2 separate regions of the Homo sapiens genome follow, and region 1 is linked to region 2. The links are contacts of gene promoters, found by promoter capture Hi-C in blood cells and fetal thymus (Javierre and others, 2016). All regions are on one chromosome and are shown on one strand. Each heading gives the region's core, a stretch centred on a gene start or on the middle of the fragment in contact. The rest is flanking DNA. Distances are from core to core; before and after follow the strand shown.

Region 1 (6,363 bases), core at 1,082-3,581, 1.6 Mb after region 2:
CTACAGAAGCAAGTTGTAGGACCAGAGAGCACCCTAGAAAACCTCCTGAGAATAGCCACTTTAGTCTTTTACAATAGGGATCAGGAGGAGGCCTGAGAAAAGGAGAGGAAATACAAGAGAACAGAGGCTCTAGTAGCAGCGTTGCAAGCTTGTAAAGTCCAGAATCCCCAAGGTGCATCCACTAGGTGTTATCAATGTGGCCAGCCAGGGCATTTTAAGAAGGAATGCCCAGACAGCAATACGAACCTTCCTTGACCCTGTCCAGCCTGTGGTGGAAACTGCTGAAGACAGGTCTTTCCCTGGAGGCAGAGGTCACTGGGTTCAGAACCAGTCTCAGAGATGGTCCAGCAGGATTGACAGGTCCCGGGGCTCAAACCCCCATTCCAGCGGCTCAGTCTGCCATTACAGCACAAGAGCCCCGGGTGATTCTGAAAATTGAAGGAAGGAAGGTAGATCTTCTGGGTACTGGAGCCAGTCTCTCTTCTCCTCTGTAATCCAGGCCTTCCCTCTTCCTTTAGTATGACTGTAAGAGGCGTCTCAGGAAAAACTCTAACCTGATATTTACCTTTAACCCGTAGCTGCAGGTTGGGGGCTTACTATTTACATATGCCTTTCTAATCAGGCCTAAAAGTCCCACTCCTTTATTAGGTAGAGATATTCTAGCTCGCATGGGAGCCAGTATCCTTATAGCCCCAGGACAAACTCTTTGTCTCCCCCTGATGGAAGTTAACATTAATCCAGAAGTGTGAGCAACTCAAGGAAGAATAGGTTGAGCTATAACTGCTAGGCCCATCCAAATCTATCTTAAGGATCCCACTTCTTTTCCTAACCAGAGAGAGTATCCCTTAAGGCCAGAGGCTAGGAAAGGGCTAGAAGCCATTATTAATAACCTAAAGATTAGAGGCCTCCTCAAACCCTGTAATAGCCCCTGCAACACCCCAATATTAGGAGTGCAGAAACCCAATGGGGAATGAAGAATAGTTCAGGACCTTCACCTCATTAATAAAGCTGTAGTTCCAATCCATCCAGTGGTCCCTAATCCCTATATCCTGTTAACTCAAATACCTGAGGGAACTAAATGGTTTGCAGTCCTAGATTTGAAAGATGTCTTTTTCTGCATACTGTTACATCCCGACTCTCAATACCTGTTTGCATTTGAAGATCCCTCCGGCCAGACCACCCAGTTAACATGGATGGTTTTCCCTTAGGGATTTTGAGATAGTCTTCGTCTGTTTGGACAGGCACTGTCACCAGACCTCTCTGAGTTCTCTCATACTCAAGTTAGGGTCTTGCAGTATGTGGATTATATACTGCTCTGTGCCCCAACTGAGGAAGCTTCTCAGGAAGGTACTGAAGCTCTTCTCAACTTCTTATCTAGCAGAGGATATAAGGTTTCAAAACCCAAGGCCCAGCTCTGCAGAACCTTAGTGAAGTACCTAGGCTTAGTGTTGTCTGAGGGGACCAGAGCATTAGGGAAAGAGCGGATTAAGCCTATCTCCACCTTCTCCCTCCCCAAAACTCTCAAGCAACTAAGAGTATTTGGGGGCATTACAGGATTTTGTAAACTGTGGATACCTGGATATGGTGAAATAGCCCATCCATTACATAACGTCATAAAAAAACTCAGGGAGCTAAAACTCATCTTTTAACCTGGAAACCTGAAGTTCAAAAGGCCTTTGACAAGCTAAAGCAAGCTTTGCTCAAAGCAGCAGCTCTCAGCCTTCCTGTAGGGGAGTCCTTCAATCTGTATGTATCAGAAAGAAAGGGGATGGCCCTGGAAGTTTTAACACAGGCCCAAGGACCAGCTCAACAGCCAGTGGGTTATCTATCAAGAGACACCTCAGAAAATTATCCCAAGAAACTCACCTTCCTTGGGTCACTTTTCTTCCTATGGCCTTACTAGAAATAAAAAATACACCTTCAAAATTAGGTCTTAGCCCTTTTAAGATGCTGTATGGATGGCCTTTCCTTACCAATGATTTTCTATTAAATCGAGAAACGTCTAAGCTAGTTAAGCATGTAACTTCTCTGGCTCACTTCCAATTAGCACAATTCATGAAAGCCCAACCCCAGGAAATTGGACCACTCTATTTAACCCAGGAGATTTGGTACAGGTGAAGGCTCTGCTTTCCCTGCCTCCCTCCCTAAGCCCAAGCTGGGAAGGGCCTTACACCGTTCTTCTTTCAACTCCCTCAGGAATAAAAGTCATAGGAATCAAATTCTGGATACATCACACTCGAGTCAAAGCCTTGGAGAGCTAAGGGACCAAAGCCCAAAGGAATGACCTGAATATCTGTGAAAAAATAGATCTTAAGCTGAAAATCACAAAAGATAAGTAACTGAGTAAGAACTACTCATCGTACTCAGTCTCACCCCTACCTCATCAAATACTTTTTGTCATTTCTACCTCTCCCTTTGAGCCAAATATTAAAACTTCTTTTTGATGGAAATTATTTACTATGCCACCCTTGCAGAAATTGTTATACTCACTCTACTATTTGCAATAGAACTATATACTGTAGCACCCTCAGGGTGGAAAATCAGACAGAGAATCTCAATTACTGTAGCATTTTGCTTAATTATTATCCTGATAGCAGGAATAATGGTTACTAACAGAAAATAAACATGAGTGTTTTACTATCACTAAGTCTATTAGGACTTTTTATCGGACTTAGTAATACATCACACCCTTTAGCTCCTACAATATCCACCATGGCCCATTTGTACAAGACTAATTGTTGGGTCTGTCCTAAGTAGTTCACTCAATTCAACGACACTGAGGAATCTTACAGTGACCCGGAACTCATCGTCTTGGGGTTCCCTTTATTGGCTTTACCTTTAACCTTTCAAGACATATCAGGCATAAATGGGACATGGTATGGGAGCACTTTCAACTGGGTGACTAACTCCTCTCAGGAGAACATTCCACCCCCAGTGGCAAAGAACACTCTCTCCAAACATAAGCTTCACACCCTCAGGCTGGGAAAAATTGACCAAGTAATAGCAAATGTCTCCCTCTGCTTTAAAAGTAGCGGGAAAGGACCACACTTGGGAGATCTCAGATATTGTAACATCACACTTGTAATTGCTGACAGTTCAAAAATTTGAGGAGAAGGGTGCAACAAGGGTCATCTAAAAGGATCAGAAGCTCTAGTGGGGGGCTTTCAGAATCGCCTCTCCTGGTTGGAAGTCCCAATGGGAGTGGCATGCTCTAAATAACCATCTTGACTATAATGTAAAAAATCACACATGGGCCTCTCCAAACATGCTCCCTCATGGAACTCGAGACCCTTCTATAACGTTTGCTAATAGTAGCAGCTTACTTTCCAACAAACATCCATTAAACACCTACTATGTGCCAGATGTTTGTCTAGGTTGTAGTAAAACAGTAGTTTAGAAAACAAACAACCCCCCCACCCCCGCAAAAAAAGAAAAAGCGGAAAAGAAATCTATCTTCAAAGATCTTTAGTTTTTGCTCATTAATTTGTGATAAAAATTAAACATTTGTGAGAAAACATCACAAATGTGTGATAAAACATCAATGTTTGGCACACTATGTTAAAGGTAATGAAAGTATCAGCTTGATCATGATTCATTACTTCCCCTCATGGGTCATACATAGCCTAGACATAGGGAAGGTACTATTCCAGTGTCTACCCATTGAAAACAACTGGCAAACTAACGTGCGCTAACTTCCATTTATAGGCTAGAAATTAAAAGATTCATTTAATGATTTGTCCTCCAGTGCTTCTGTTATCTTTTGGTGTTTATGAGTTAATAAGCTGCTATGGTGTCTGCAAATATAACTGGCAGTAATCCACAATTGATCGAGTTAATTAAGCATAACAATTGTGACGAGCTAAGACTAATAAGAAGGAAAAATTTTAATGAAATGATATATAAAGCCATAGAGCTGCACCAAGGAGTATAGACAATCTGGAAAGTTTTCCTCAATAGATTGTGTGTGTGTGTGTGTGTGTGTGTGTGTGTGTGTGTGTGTATGCATTTCCTTTTAATGTATCATCATTCTGTAAAATATGGCATATTCCTAATGTTCAGAGTAATGGAAAATATGTTGTTAGAAACTTAGTTTTTTCCTGTAGCTTGACTGTGTAATACTCTCTGATGCTTAAATTCAGATATAATGAAAACATCTTCACAATATGAACACCCTCTTATTTCTAATTAGAATCTCTTGATAATAAGAAGGGGCACTGATGCTGATGCTAAGGTTACATTGTTTTCTACGTATGTGCTATGCTTCGATGAGTCCTGCTACAGGATATTTGCTGCTTACATCCATAAGTGCTTACTGAGTGCCAGACCCTGGATTAGTATTCTCTCCCCTGCTGTAAGCGCTAGCTAAAAATAGCCTTTAAACTTCCTAGGGATAGAATTATAATCAAACATCAGGAGAAGCAGAAGTTCAAGGATATGGGCAGTGAATTTGCATGTCTCATATCCTAGTAGTTTGGCCATAGTCTTTGACAGTTTTCTTTCTAAAGTTGTATTTATTTCCCCAGTTCCACTCAACCTTACAGTGATTCTTATCTCAACATGTCTATTCTAGAGTAATCACTATTACACTGTGTTTCAAACCACACAACTCATAAAGACATATTTTATGCAAAGATAGAAGGCTTCAGGGGTTACAATATCTCTTTACCAACACAGAGTATAAGGATAGGGAGATAAATATTACCTAATAGGTTATTCTCACACAGGTATGATGGAATGGGACACAGGTATGAACATGACAGAAGAAAAAGATGTCATTGTAGTGTTGAAGGATAGTGTGGAACGTCACCGAAGGTTAGACCTTTTTGGAAGTATCTGTGTAATTATAGCTTTGTTGGTGTTGGGATCGATGCCATTGAAGCGTGAAGTTTTTTTTTGTTTGTTTTTGTTTTTGAGAAGGAGTCTCGCTCTGTCACCCAGGCTGGAGTGCAGTGGCGCGATCTCAACTCACTGCAAGCTCCACCTCCCGGATTCATTCCATTCTCCTGCCTCAGCCTCCCGAGTAGCTGGGGGCTACAGGTGACCGCCACCACGCCCGGCTAATTTTTTGTATTTTTAGTAGAGACGGGGGGGGGGGTTTCACCATGTTAGCCAGAATGGTCTTGATCTCCTGACCTCGTGATCCGCCCACCTCGGCCTCCCAAAGTGCTGGGATTACAGGTGTGAGCCACCGCGCCCGGCTGAAGTGTGAAGTTTTAAGCCATGCTAGTTAATTTATTATTCCATCCACAACTGTTTAGCCTACCTCCTCAAGGAAGAATGGTCCAATGTTTACAGACTAGCACTGAGAGGGGGCCCTGCACCCAAATCTAGGTTCTGCCACTGGCAGCATCATCTGTGATCCTGGAATAAGATATTTAACATGAGAGCATCCGTTTCCTGATCTTTGTATAAAAAGGGGTTGTTGTAATGATGTGATCAGTGAGTGAGACATACAGGTCTCTGCACTTCAAAGAATAATCACCTAAAGATTACAACATTGTGACATCCTCTAGCTATACTAGTATGATGGTATAATAGAGAAGCAAAATCACCTGAATGTTATTTTGCCTCAATTATTTTCATAATGGAAAATGATCATCTAATTGGAAAAAACAGAGTCACATTTTTAAAGGAGGGTTAACTTCTAATGTAGTTAAATGGCTCTTTTTTTCTGAAACACCAGGAATTTTTCCTAAGGGAATCAAAGCAACAAAGTCTGAAGCTTCAGTGATTAGGCATTTGGGGACAAAAAGTATAGTATGATGGAGACATTTAGGAGAGTGTGTCTTTTGTGAGTGCAAAGTTCTAAGTCAGTAACTGCCTGTTCAATTCATGTGATGTGATTTCATTTGATGTGGATGCCTGTATGTGCATTTAGGGAAATAAGACTGTTTATTTATGATTTAAATAAACCATGTTTTACCCATACAATCTAAGGTACCCTAGACTCTCCCTGGAGCTTATCTGTAAAACAAAATATATGTTCTTTCTATCTCATGGATTGTTTATTGAAAAATAAAATTTAATACTGTATATAAAATTGTTTTAAAAATGTATAAAGCACTATCTCTGCACACATACAATTATGGGGTGATCGTAACAATGATCCAGAGCTCAAAAAGAAGAGAACATTTAGCCAAATATTATCCCTTTGTATATGAAAGTTTAAAAATTAAAAAGTAAAAAAGAATCGTAGAAAAGATAAAAATAGATTAAAATTGGCATTAAACTTAAAATTCTGCTCATTAATGATCTTTCATATACAAAATATAAATTCTTGAGATTTTCTACCTTACCTGTTATGAGCTGAATGTTTGTCTTCTCCACCCCAAATGATTCACATGTTAAAGACCTAATTCCCAG
Region 2 (6,534 bases), core at 584-3,083:
CACCATTTCCTAGTTATGAGACCACTGGCAGATGACTTAACCTCTCTGTGCCCAATTCCTCGCTGTCAAATGCTGGTGGTAATAACACCACCAATTTCAAACGGTTGTTTGAGTTAATTCACAAAAAAACTCCAGAACAGAAACAGTCAAGTGCTCATAAACATTGCTACTATGGTTATCATTAATAATCCTGACTGGTGAACCGAAACAATTACTTTCCCCAACCATTAACTTACTCAAACATAGTTTAATTAAAACCAAATTGCTCAAATAGACTCACAAATATACACATAGCTGTTCCATCCTGTGACCCTCTAGGTATTTTCTCAGGCACAAAAATGTAGCTACTTACCTTTGAGGTAGACACTCAGGGTATTATTACCTGTGACAGTTTAGGGCTTTCAAGCAAAGATGTCAAAAATAAAGTATATAAGTATAATTACATATAATGGCCAATTAAAAGCCAACCTTTGTGAGAGGTAATATTTACTAAACTTTTTACACATTTGGCCTATTATTTTTAGTACTCTATGGTCAAAGTTTTGTCATTATCAGTTGGGTGGACTCCTAAGGTAACTGGGTAAAATGCCAAAGAGAAACAATACATTTAACCACATAGAGCAATGGAAGATAAAACTCTTCAAAGCCAGATTAACATTAAAAAGAAAAGGAAATCATCACCTTTAGAAAATAACACCAATTTGCAAACTGAATGAGGGAACACAGGGTTTTTACCTATTTAAAATAAATTTATTTTTCCATCCCCACTCAAGATAATGGTATTTATGATTTTTATAGTCAGTTAACAGTGGGGCTCAGAGAACTACTTGGCAAACCTAGGAAGAGCCAAGTTGCAAGTCTGTCACAATCTTCTGTAATCTTGAGGGAGTCTTACTGCTTTCTCTGGGGTTGTTTCCTCATTCTGTAACCAACTTCAGAAACTAATATCCTGACTCCAAACAATATTATGTGCTGTAACTACGGTGCTTAAAAATTACTTACAAAAAACTGACCTCCCTGAAGAGCAGGGTGCCTGAAGAGAAAATAGACAGGAAAATCAGAATTGTAATAATGATGTAATTAACAATTATAGAGAACTTAATATACGCCAGGCACTGTAAACTTCTCATGTACTCGCTCATTTCATCTTCCAAGATGCCTAAGCGGTAGGTTCTGTTAGTAGTTCCATTTTTCAAATTATGAAACTGAAGCTCAATGAGGTTAGTGGCTTGTCCAAGGTAACCCAGCAAGTGGCAGAACTCGGGAACCTAACCGCAGGTGCCAACTTAAATCGTTAGAGAAGTCTGTTTCCCCAGCTTTGCCACTAACTAGCTATATGAGCTTGGGCAAGTCATGCTTCTCCCCTTGGGCCTCAGTTTCTCTAGCTGAAAGTGAAGAAATGTCCTAAAGATTTAGGTCGCTTCCGGGTCCTAAGTGATGGAAGACCACACGTTACGTGGGGGGAGGGGAGGAACTGAGGTTTGGGACCCGGCCGCAACCCAGGATACCGCGTCGGTTCTGCTCCTGCTAGAGCCTCCAGGGCTCCTACCCCACACCCCTTCTAGCATCGCGTTCAGAGTGAGGCGCTCGGTGGTACAGGGACGCGGTACATCCAACAAGCAGTCAATAAAGGTGCACTGATCCGCCCCGCCGCGCGGCAAGCCCGACCGGAGCCCGGAGGAGTTACCCGTCCATTACGTCCAGGTGCAGATAATCGGCCCCAGAGTCTAGCATCCGGAGGCACTCGGCCCCTAAATTGGCCAGGTCGCTGTTGAGGATGGACGGGCCAATCTTGCAGCCCGACGCCATACCGCTGGCTCCCAAAAGCAAGTTACCCACGAGTCCCCGGCAAGGCTAGAGCGTCACCCCGATTGGGCGCGCAGTTTTGGCCCCGCCCCTTCTCCGTACAGGCTTCCGGATTCTACCGGAAGCAGCCACTCTGCGGTGAGGAAGTCCCGCCTCCTCCTGGGGTGGGGCGCTGTCAGCCGTCCGCCTGGGGCGGGGCGGGGCACACGGGCCTCGTACACCTGATTTTGACCTTCCTTCTTGTGCTGTTTGGATCTTAACGTCCTCGCAGTACTCAAGGCGTTTCTTAACCTTTTTTCACTTTGCTTCTCCTGCAGTTCCCTCTCCTCGGCTCTTGACTTAACATCACTTTTTGTTTCTCCACCCTTTGCATATGCCTTTCTTTCCTCTCCAGCGCCTATGCTGGCCCTTTAAAACAACAATTAAAAACCTTTCTTCCTCGTATTTCTCCTAGAGCTCTTCTTTTGAGCTGGAGGAACCCTGGCTCTGCCAGATACTAGCTGGGTGACCTGGCAAATCACTTCTTAACTTCGGTTTTCTCATCTGTAAAGACAGTGCCCAGCTTTAGGGTTGTATTAAATGAGTGAAGCCAGGTAATGCGCCCAGCAGGATGCCTGGTGCTCAGTACAAAATGGTAGTTATTATTATATTACCCTCTTTTTCTGCCTTTGCAGTTCCTCCTTACCTTTTTTGTTTTTCCCTCTGTTGAGGCTCAGAAAATGATAGCCCAAAGTGAAGGCCTCAGACGCAACAGTGTTTCTCTGACTTCCTGCCCTGCTCTCTTCTCAGTCTCATTCTAGGAGGCAGGTCATAGAAACTGGAGCCCATCTTCCCTAAGAAGAGTCATTGAAACCGGAACCCCCTTTCCCTGAAGCCAGACACAAAACCCAAAAGCATTACTCTAACTTTCCTCCACCTTTCTGTGTAAAAACTGGCCATAAATTATTTGACCCATCTCAACTGTAGGTTATAAAACTCCTCTTCTAGAGAAGGTTCTATCCCATATCCAGGAGGAGGGAATGCTGCACAGAGAGGCCAGGAATCTAAACTAGACTGGCCAAGGCCAGGTCAGTCTATTAGCATTAGATCGCCTATTTTGTCCAATCGTATTTCTACATGGCTGTCTATACTTTGTTGAACCTAAGTATAAAAATGGGTAATCACCCCTGTACCTTTGGGTCTTCATTCTGAAGGCTCCTGTGTCAGGTAAAACTATAATCAAATAAGTTTTTATGCCTTTTCTCCTGTTAATCTTCTTTCTGTCAGTGATTTTCAGCAAACCTTTGGAGGGTGAAGGGAAAGTTTTCCCTTGGCCCCTACACCTCTCCAATGCTCATTCACAAATTGTGATAGGTTTGTGTGCTGTTCACACACAGTTCAGAAATGGATGAGTATCCTGATGCTAAATGTGCCTAGGGTCAGGAAAAGAGACAGAAGTAAAACCACTTGGCGGGGATAAATGGACTTAGCAAGAGCAATCCTTAAGGGGTCAGAATAGAGCACTTGTACTCTGTGTAAAAGACGGAAGTGGTAACTTGGACTGAGAGGTGACAGCGTGCTGGCAGCCCTCGCTCACTCTCGGTGCCTTCTTGGCCTTGGCACCCACTCTGGCCGCGCTTGAGGAGCCTTTCAGCCCACCGCTGCACTGTGGGAGTCCGTCTGGGCTGGCCAAGGCCGGAGCTGGCTCCCTCAGCTTGTGGGGAGGTATGCAGGGAGAGGCACAGGCGGGAACTGGGACTGCAAGGCACTTGTGGGCCAGCGCGAGTTCGAGGTGGGCGTGGGCTCTGCGGCCCCGCACTTGGGTGGGCCGGCTGGCCTGCTGGCCCCGGGCAGTGAGGGGCTTAGCACCTGGGCCAGCAGCTGCTGTGCTGGATTTCTTGCCAGGCCTTAGCTGCCTCCCTCTACGGGGCAGGGCTCGGGACCTGCAGCCCACCATGCCTGAGCCTCCCCTCCATGCCGTGGGCTCCTGCGCGCCCAGCGTCCCTGAGGAGCGCCGCCCCCTGCTCCACAGCACCCAGTCCCATCGACCGCCCAAGGGCTGAGGAGTGCCGGCGCACAGTAGGGGACTGGCAGGTAGCTCCACCTGCCGCCCCAGTATGGGATCCACTGGGTGAAGCCAGCTGGGCTCCTGAGTCTGGTGGGGACTTGGAGAATCTTTATGTCTAGCTGAGGGATTGTAAATACACCAATCAGCACTCTGTATCTAGCTCAAGGTTTGTAAACACACCAATCAGCACCCTGTGTCTAGCTCAGGGTTTGTGAATGCACCAATGGGCACTCTGTATCTAGTTAATCTGGCAGGGACTTGGAGAATCTTTATGTCTAGCTAAGGGATTGTGAATGCACCAATTGGCACTCTGTATCTAGCTCAAGGTTTGTAAATGCACCAATCAGCACTCTGTGTCTAGCTCAGGGTTTGTAAATACACCAATGGACACTCTGTATCTAGCTAATCTAGTAGGAGAACTTTTGTGTCTAGCTCAGGGATTGTAAACGCACCAGTCAGCACCCTGTCAAAACGGACCAATCGGCTCTCTGTAAAATGGACCAATCAGCAGGGTGTGGGTGGGGCCAGATAAGAGAAGAAAAGGCTGCCTGAGCCAGCAGTGGCAACCGGCTTGGGTCCCCTTCTGAGCTGTGGTATGTTTGTTCTTTTGCTCTTTGCACTAAATCTTGCTACTGCTCACCTTTGGGTCCACACTGCCTTTATGAGCTATAACATTCACCACAAAGGTTTGCAGCTTCACTCCTGAAGCCAGCGAGACCACGAACCCACTGGGAGGAATGAACAACTCCAGACGCACCGCCTTAAGAGCTGTAACACTCACCGCGAAGGTCTGCAGCTTCACTCCTGAAGCCAGCGAGACCACGAACCCACCAGAAGGAAGAAACTCCAAACACATCTGAACATCAGAAGGAACAAACTCCGGATACGCTGCCTTTAAGAACTGTAACACTCACCGCAAGGGTCCGTGGCTTCATTCTTGAAGTCATTGAGACCAAGAACCCACCAATTCCTGACACAGGACCACGTATTTCTGGCCACATTGTGAGGGCAACCAGATCTTTAACAATCCCACTGGGAAATCTACCAGTTATTCCAGTAGATGAAAGCCTGGGCAGAGAAGTTTATTTTTATTTTTTAAAGGTAGATTTGCAAAGCATGAGTAGAGTAGAGCTCAGTTTGTGGGGAGGGGTCACGGAGAGTGTATTGGAGGTGTCTAATTGGATGGTGACCTCAGGCCAGACTGGGGAGGTTGAGGATGGACAGCAAGGCATTAACAAAGGCACACCCCAGGAATCCAAAATGAACATCTTCCTGAAGGAGTCAAGCTATTACCTACATTAAGAAATGAAACTTAGGCATCTTTAATGTTTTTAGATTTATTTTATCATATGTGCATACCTAAACACAGAAGTCTTAATATCTTTCATAAATATCTTTCATAAACATTTCAGTATTTATTCATATGCATTTTTTCCATGTTCTTTGGTCATTCAGTACTCATAATAGACTTCATAGTTATCTGAGGGAAGTCGGCTGTGTAGTCAATTTTTTGTTTTAACCTATAAAATGGCTAATAAAGGATTTTCATCCTGTGGTCACAGTGACAATTCAAAGATTTATGGAGGTAAATTGATCTGTAATCCTAAATGATCATAAAATAATATCAGTAAATTTGTCTTAAGCTTTTCCAAATACATTCTGCCCTCAACTTGTTTTTATTCTCCTGAGTGTCAAATCAAAATTTGTTTCTGAAATGCTGCAGTTGAGACCCACTAAAGTAAAAAGAAGTGGGATTTTTTACTCCCTGCCAAGACAAGGCCATGGAATGGGAAGTGTGAGGTCACAGGGCAACAGCATGACTTGGTGTGATAGCAGCGAATTCTGGAGACTGTGTTCTATTAAAGTATCCTTTATAACTTGAGGAAGGATATTTAATTCATGTTTCAGACTGTACTTCTATTCATTTATGACCCTTTCTTCCCTAAAAGCCCCTCCACACACATCCTATTCTCATCTCAGATACTCTCAGAGCTGGGCAGCAGAGTGGAGAAAGTTCTTTGTTGACTAAAGGAATATAATGCTAAAGAAGAGAGGAGCTATCACCTTGTTTAAGGTACTCTTGGAGGCTTGAAACAGCAAACCAGTTACTCCCAGCCTGTGCAACAGGCCCTAACCAGATCACCAGTACCACAGATTTTTCCACCAGCACTGCCATGCCCATTTATGCCCTTTGATTTTGACACTGTAGTTCTCAGTGCCTTGTCTTAATACACTCAATAACTCAGTTTCTTTTTCAGAAAAATGACATAGCTTATCTAATAGAATTCTAGAAAGCAGCAAATACTGAAAAATGAAAGTAAAATGTTTTGCTATAGGAGATCCTATATCCAGAATTTAAACTGTTTTAATTGGATCTGAGTCATACTATCATGGATAACACATGGTTTATTCCAAGGTCTCTCAAAAGCTAATTTCAGAAGAAGCAACCTCTTTGCTGAGTCTAATTTTTTCTACATGGGAAGTGGGTACCTTTTTTGTTTTTCCTCTGAATAAGATAAATATCATTAAGTATCATGGCTTAAGAAATGATCTACTATTACCAACACTGCATTTATCATATGTAGTAATTAGCTTTTAGTCATGTACTTAATAATATTTTGAACATTTATCTTGAGCTTTTTTCTAATCTTCCCCAACTTTTTTTTTTAATAGTTATTCCT

What was found. Contacts are between HindIII fragments. The CHiCAGO score rates a contact against its expected background, and 5 or more counts as called.
Region 1: a contact is called between a fragment that was not itself captured here and the fragment with the promoter of RPE in region 2, in 4 of 17 cell types (M0 macrophages, M2 macrophages, M1 macrophages and 1 more). The highest score is 14.1, in M0 macrophages.

The regions. Positions count from the first base shown.
Region 1 is chr2:208,386,865-208,393,227 of GRCh38, reverse strand. It overlaps a transcript of PTH2R not described here. Among named protein-coding and RNA genes, the nearest start is that of PTH2R, 17 kb to the left of the region's middle. The HindIII fragment of the contact is 1,270 bases long and covers 1,697-2,966 here.
Region 2 is chr2:209,997,937-210,004,470 of GRCh38, reverse strand. It overlaps RPE (ribulose-5-phosphate-3-epimerase), which reads right to left and starts at 1,833. Exons shown (of 6, transcript NM_199229.3): 1 at 1,688-1,833. The coding sequence starts at 1,809. It overlaps UNC80 (unc-80 subunit of NALCN channel complex), which reads right to left. Exons shown (of 65, transcript NM_001371986.1): 65 at 5,175-6,534. RefSeq lists enhancers at 1,565-1,734, 1,775-1,824. The HindIII fragment of the contact is 5,690 bases long and covers 1-5,498 here.